2 separate regions of the Homo sapiens genome follow, and region 2 is linked to region 1. The links are contacts of gene promoters, found by promoter capture Hi-C in blood cells and fetal thymus (Javierre and others, 2016). All regions are on one chromosome and are shown on one strand. Each heading gives the region's core, a stretch centred on a gene start or on the middle of the fragment in contact. The rest is flanking DNA. Distances are from core to core; before and after follow the strand shown. Region 1 holds the start of LPIN2 (lipin 2). Region 2 overlaps SMCHD1 (structural maintenance of chromosomes flexible hinge domain containing 1).

Region 1 (3,383 bases), core at 337-2,836:
ATGCCTGTAATCCCAGCTACTCGGGAGGCTGGGGCACAAGAATCGCTTTAACAGAGGAGGCAGAGATTGCAGTGATCGGAGATCGCGCAACTACACTCCAGCCTGGGCGACAGAGTGAGACTCTGTCTCGAAATAAAAGAGATACTTCAGTCTGACATACCACAATCAACTACAATGTAATTGGAGGGAAGAGCCGATGTTGGACGGCTATCACACGTGGCTTCACACTGTTCTTTTTCTTCTCTGGCTGGGTACGGCCTGAGGATGACTGCCCTCCAACAACTGAGGATGCTGCAGGAGGACCAGCCCAGCACCTGTCTCCATCCCCTGCACTGTGTGGCCGGCTCTGCCGCTTCTCCCCCGCTTCAGCATCACCTGCCACTTCTTCTCAATCTGAAGCCACTAAGAACGATCAACACCAGACCGTTAAAACATAAACCAGTATGGGCCACTAAATAATTCGTAAATATTTCAAAATGTATTTCAAAACCGACTTTGTATTGTCAAAACATTATAATCTAGCCAGGCCAAGTTTTAATAAACAGTAACACCCATCATCACTACTGGGTAAAGAACTTCATTCAACAGGACCTACCTTGACACCAAGTCTAGAGCCTCGTTTTCAATTAAAAAAAAAATGGGTAAGCCCCAAATGTGCATTAAAAATTAGTTTGGCCATTTACTAAGTAGTCCTTCAAAGCATTTCCAAGTATTCAGAGTTCCAGTACTTTTCGGAAAGGAAGGGTGATCTTTCTGGTACTGGTTTGCATAATTATGCCTAAAAAATGTCATCTTGAATTTTCAATGAAAAGAGTCTTAAAATGTTCAGGCGAGTGGAGAAAATGGTGATCCGCTGGCGTTAGAAGTGGACAGAGAGGCTCTCAGTACAAACTGTATCTGAACGTGTTCCTCACAAATTAAGATCTGCACCGGGGGCTGGGGGGCTTTGAGAAAACTAACCACATTTGAATCCGGTCCACACAGCTTGAAGGCGGAGGTACGGGGCAAAGCGCGGCGGGGAAGAAACACCAGCAACTCGGCGGCCCCCGCCTCGCCGCAGATCACGTGCCCGGCGCCCCCTCCCGCAGGGCCGGGGGCGGGATGGAGACGCGGCCTCCCGCGCGCCTTCCGCACTCCCCTCCGCGCCCCAAACCCAGGGGTAGGGGTGGTCTCGGGTAACCATCCCCAGGGCGGCGGCGAGGGAACTGCGCGGGTTCAGAGTCCTCAGCAGCCACCACTGACGCCCCGACGCCCCCGGCTCCCCGCGCACCCCGCCGGTCCGTCCTGCGGCGGCGGCGGTAGGGGCCGCGTCTACGTGGCGCGGTCGCGGCGAGGCGGGGACTGGGACGCGAGGACCGGGAAGCGGGGACCGCGGCGCGAGGAGGGGCGGCTCAACCCGCGCCGCCCCGGAGGGTCCCGGCCTCCGGCAGGACAGCCCCGGGCCCGCGCCAAGGGAAGCCCCCAGGCGCAGACACTCACCGCCAGCCCCGGAGGGACGCCTGCGAGGAGCCCGGCCCGCGCCCACTTACCCACAGGGGCTCCGCTCCCGGCCAGCGGGCGGCTGAGGGCAGGCGGCGGCTGGACTGCGACGGCTAGGACCCGCCGGGGAGGGAAGCCGAGGGGGCGGGGCCGGTCGGGGGCGCGCGCGGGGTCGGAGCGCCCGCAGCCGCCGCTGCCTTGGAAGCCGCCTGGGCCGCAGCTGAGTCGGGCGGCCCTCATGAATGGGACGCCGCGGCTGCGGCGGCCGAGCCGGCAGCTGGCGGGCGGGCAGCGCGCAGGCCCCGCCCCAGCCACGTGACGCGCGCTCCCGGCCGCGCGCCGCGCCCCCGCCGCCGAGCGCCAGGCGTGCGGCTTCTCACCGCTCCCAGTCCCTGGGCTGCGCGCCCGGGCCCCTGGCCAAGTGAGGGCGGGGCCTCGATTTTCTAGTGCCTCGGGCGACAGGAGCCTTACTTTGTTTTAAAAAAAAAAAGTTTCTTCCGGTCCCCATGGCAACCCTGCGGCAGGTCACGTGGGACTGAGAGCCCAATTGCCAAAAAGGAATGTTAAAGTGCAAAAAAAGTCTAGGGAATGAATGTTTTATAATCCCCTTTTGATCACTAGTAGCACATCTCCTTTGCTTACTTACATCTCCACCGAAAAAAAAAAAATCCTATTACACAACTCATTTTTAAAAATATGCCGGGGTTCTGTTGTTTTTTGTTTATTCTTTTTATCGCTCTGTTACCCCGGCTGGTCTCCAACTCCTGGGCTCAAGCATCCCCGCACCTCGGCCTCCCAAAGTACTGGAATTACAGGCATGAGCCACCGTCCCCAGCATTAAAATATACTTTTTAAGAAATGGGTGGCTCACGCCTGTAATCCTAGCACTTTGGAAGGCCGAGGCAGGCGGATCACTTGAGGTCAGGAGTTCAAGACCAGCCTGGCCAACATGGTGAAACCCCCGTCTCTACTAAAAATACAAAAAACCAGCCGGGCGTGGTGGCGCGTGCCTGTAATCCCAGCTTCTCAGGAGGCTGAGGCAGGAGAATCAGTTGAACCCGGGAGGCGGAGATTGCAGTGAGCCGAGATGGCGCTATTGCACTCCAGCCTGGCGACAGAGAGACTCCGTCTCAGAAAGAAAAGAAATGGGGCCCGGCGCGGTGGCTCACGCCGGTAATCCCAGCACTTTGGGAGGCCAAGGCGGGTCGATCGCCTGAGGTCAGGAGTTGGAGACTAGCCTGGCCAACGTGGCAAAACCCCGCCTCTACTAAAAATACAAAAATTAGCCGGGCATGTTGGCTGCAATCCCAGCTACTTAGGAGGCAGAGGCGGTAGAATCACTTGAACCCGGGGGGCGGAGGTTGCAGTGAGCAGAGATTGCGCCACTTCACTCCAGCCTGGGAGCGAAACTCTGTCTCAAAAAAAAAAAAAACAAAAAAAACTGGATTGCTGGTGCTATATACTATTGGTGCACACTGGTTTTTAATTTGCAGCCTATTCTATTACTATTCTATGATTGAAAGTAATGAACAGAAGCCTATGTTACTTCTATATAAATGGCAGTTAATTTATGAGGTGCATCTTGTGTGTGATCATTTATACAGTTCTAAGGGTACTGAAATAGGCATTTGCATACACAAAGCTGCTCCTTGAAGGATCCAGCTGCAGCCCAGTTTCTTCCCACCAGTGCCTGGTGTAGCTGGGCAGTGCTTGGATTCAGGGAGCAGGCGACCACTTCTTCACTGAAGTTCCTTCTGCTTTTCTGTGAAACTCGATCAAGTTTTGCCCCATCTGTAATCAAGGCCCTACAGAAACATAGGTAGTTTCACTGGCACAAGACCACTAGGAATTTTCCTCATTTCACTGCTTCTCACTTGGCTTCACAAGTAAAATAAAAATTGAAG
Region 2 (3,383 bases), core at 636-3,135, 270 kb before region 1:
CTGTTTGTACCCATCTACAATTTGTAAATGCAATTTCATTTCTAAGATTTGAAATAAAACCAGAACAACTTCCAACATGACTTTAAAAAGAAATCACCCCTTCAGAAGGGCTTTTGGTTCAGAAGAGCTATCAAATTTGGAACCCTAAGATAGACTTTGCATATTTTGAACTTCAGTACATTTTACTAAGGAATATCTATTTAATTAGTTTTCTGAATATTGAAAAATTCTTCTGTGCTTATTGGGCTTTTCGGAGAGATTAATTTTGATTATTTTACAGTGACTTTTTACATAAAATATTCTGTTCTACAGATCATTGTTTGAGAACATAAAACATGAAGTTTTCTCTCTGATTTATTTATTTAATTTTTCGAAACAGGATCTCACTCTTTTGCCCAGGCTGGAGTGCAGTGCAGTGTTGTGAATATGGCTCACTGTAGCTTCAACCTCCTGGGCTCAAGTGATCCTCCCACCAGAGCCTCCCAACTAGCTAGGACTATAGACGCATGCCACTACACCTGGCTAATTTTAAAATTTTTTGTAGAGACGGGGTCTTACTGTGTTGCCCAGGCTGGTCGTGAACTGGGCTCAAGGGATCCTTCCACCTTGGCCTCGTAAAGTGCTGGGATTATAGTCAGGAGCCACTGTGCCTGGCCTGATTTTAAAATTTTGCTGAAATATTGTTACAGCAGCCCAGAAACAAAAATAAAATTTTGATGAAGTAGATTTGTACCTAGCAGAAATTTAAGATGAATAAATCATCAAGGGTCACCATTAAAATACAAATACTGCAGCACTCACGCCAGTGTGGAATCATTCAGTCATATTGCAAAGATTATAGGCTAGTTTCATTGATTCTCATTAATATGATGTGTTACGCATTATTCTAAGTAATAGAGATTGAGTAGTGACAAATCAAAGCTCCTGACCTTGTGGAAATCATCTTGTCATGGAGAGAACATGCAATAGATAAGAAATAAGAGGTAAGAAAAATGAAGTAAAGAAGGGGATAGATAGTATGCCAATAAGTAAGGTGATCAGGGAAGAGCCTCTTATTAAGGTATCATGTACAAAAATCTAAAGACAAACAGTGTGTATATCTGGTAAATAATGTTGCAAACAGAGGGAAAGAACAAGTATAAAAGCTATTCAGGTAGCAGAAAGGAGGAAGTATAAAGAAGAGGGAAATTAAGAAAAGATAAAATAAAGAGACATTGCCAGAACCTTTTAGATCCCCTACCCCTTGAAAGAAAAAATTCAGTTTCTCCTCTCTTGAAAATAAAATGCATGGCATGCCATTATTGCATGGGTGCTATTTATTTTCTGTCATGTTACCAAGAAACACATCTGTACGCCCATGGGTTAATGACAAAACATTTTATTTTGTTTTTCTGAACACTAAGTGATACCCCCTGTCTTTCTCAATGTACTTTTCCTCACTAGGAAAACACACAGAGTATAAGTGTAAGAGGCATCAAATTTATTCCAGGTCCTCCTGGAAATAAGGATCTTTGTTTTACTTGGCGTGAGTTTTCTGACTTTATTCGAGTGCAACTAATTTCTGGACCTCCTGCTAAACTTCTCCTTATAGACTGGCCAGAACTAAAGGAGGTAAGTCACTTCATGTCTTCACTGAAAGAATTTAATATCATATGGCTTATTACTTTCAGATTGTCAGTGAATCAGAATAGATATATTTTGTTGCTGAAGTAACAACTAACAGTTGTTAACAGTAAAAATAACAAAAAAGCAAGGTAATGTGAGTCTTAATACTTTGTTATTTGATTCATCATTGTGTCCTCATTTGTTAAAAATAATGAGTGTAATAATTCAGATCTTAAAAACTACATTACAGAGGATTTCAAGCATGCATAAAAATAAAAAGAATAGTGTAGCAAACTCCCATGTGCCAATTACCTAGTTTCTACAGTTACTGATTTTTGCCAATTTTGTTCTTTGTTTTCTTATACTAATCTAATAACTTTTTATTGGAGTTTTAAAAAGCATATCTCAGACATCAAGTCATATCCGTAAATACTTCGGTATGCCTTCCTATGCAAGTACTTAAATTTTAAATACTAATTTTGTAAATGTCTGTCAAATCTGTTTTTTTTTTTTACTGAAGTTTCAGAATTCTAATTTGATTGACAGACAAAAATTGTACATATTTATTGTGTACAACATATTTTGAAATATGTATACATTGTGGAATGGCTAAATCAAGCTAATTAACGCACATATTCTCATACTTTTTTTTGTGGTGAAAACATTTGAAATCTATTCTCTTAGCAGTTTTGAAGAATCATCTTGTCACGGAAAGGACATGCAATAGATGAAGCAGTTTTGAAGAATAGTAATATACTATTAACTGTAGTCATCATCATACAATAGATCTTTTGAACTTAATACTCCTAACTGAAATTTTGTATCCTTTGATGGAATTCTAGTTTTAAAATGTCCAGATTCTGACATTTGCTTATGGAATAGCAGGGCTTTAATGGTTTTTTTGTTTGTTTTGTTTTGTTTTGTTTTTGTTTTGAAAGAGTTTCACTCTTGTTACCCAGGCTGGCGTGTGGAATGCATTGGCACGATCTTGGCTCACTGCAACCTCCACCTCCTGGGTTCAAGCGATTATCCTGCCTCAGCCTCCCAAGTAGCTGGGATTACAGGCATGTGCCACCATTCCTGGCTAATTTTGTATTTTAAATAAAGATAGGGTTTCACCTGTTGGCCATGGTTGGTCTCAAACTCCTGACCTCAGGCGATATGTCCGCCTTGGCCTCCCGAAGTGCTGGGATGACAGGCATGAGCCACTGCACCCGGCCAGGACTTTTAACTGTTGATGTGATAGCTAACTTTGAAACAAGTTTTATTTATTTTTAATAGAGACTGGGTTTCACCATGCTGACCAAGCTGATCTTGAGCTCCTGGGCCCAGGCAATTCTTCTGCCTCATTCTCGCAAAGTTCTGGGATTACAGGTGTGAGCCACCGTTCCCAGCCCATGTTTTCTGTAAAAGAAAATGAAGTCACACAATCATGGTAGTAGGTGAATTTATCTTAGTAAAGGGGCAGGTCATCTAAGAAAGGTTAACATGCTCATGCCTTAGTTTGAGATTGATCTTTTTCACTTGTGAGTTTAAAAAGCAGATAAACTGGTTGTGACAGTGTGCTTTATAAAACACAGTTTTTAGAATAATAGTGTGTTGACTAAAGGGTTTTACTGAAAAGCCAGTGCATTTTTTTTTCTGGGAGCACTTACAAAACATAAATTAACCCACTTTTTATACCTACTGATGCCAGTGAAGTATTTGTTGATTGACTGTTACCTGGAACAGTTGTGTGGAACAGTTTTGAGGTGGAAAAAGTCTGGACATGTTTGTCT

What was found. The method cuts DNA at HindIII sites, captures the fragments that hold promoters and counts their contacts. A CHiCAGO score of 5 or more calls a contact.
Region 2: a contact is called between a fragment that was not itself captured here and the fragment with the promoter of LPIN2 in region 1, in 5 of 17 cell types (naive CD4 T cells, neutrophils, naive CD8 T cells and 2 more). The highest score is 6.0, in naive CD4 T cells.

What each region holds. Positions count from the first base shown.
Region 1 is chr18:3,011,558-3,014,940 of GRCh38, forward strand. It overlaps LPIN2 (lipin 2), which reads right to left and starts at 1,587. Exons shown (of 20, transcript NM_001375808.2): 1 at 1,530-1,587. RefSeq lists a silencer at 1,028-1,977. The HindIII fragment of the contact is 8,581 bases long and covers 1-3,383 here.
Region 2 is chr18:2,742,318-2,745,700 of GRCh38, forward strand. SMCHD1 (structural maintenance of chromosomes flexible hinge domain containing 1) reads left to right here. Exons shown (of 48, transcript NM_015295.3): 29 at 1,444-1,611. Among named protein-coding and RNA genes, the nearest start is that of SMCHD1, 88 kb to the left of the region's middle. The HindIII fragment of the contact is 4,572 bases long and covers 1-3,383 here.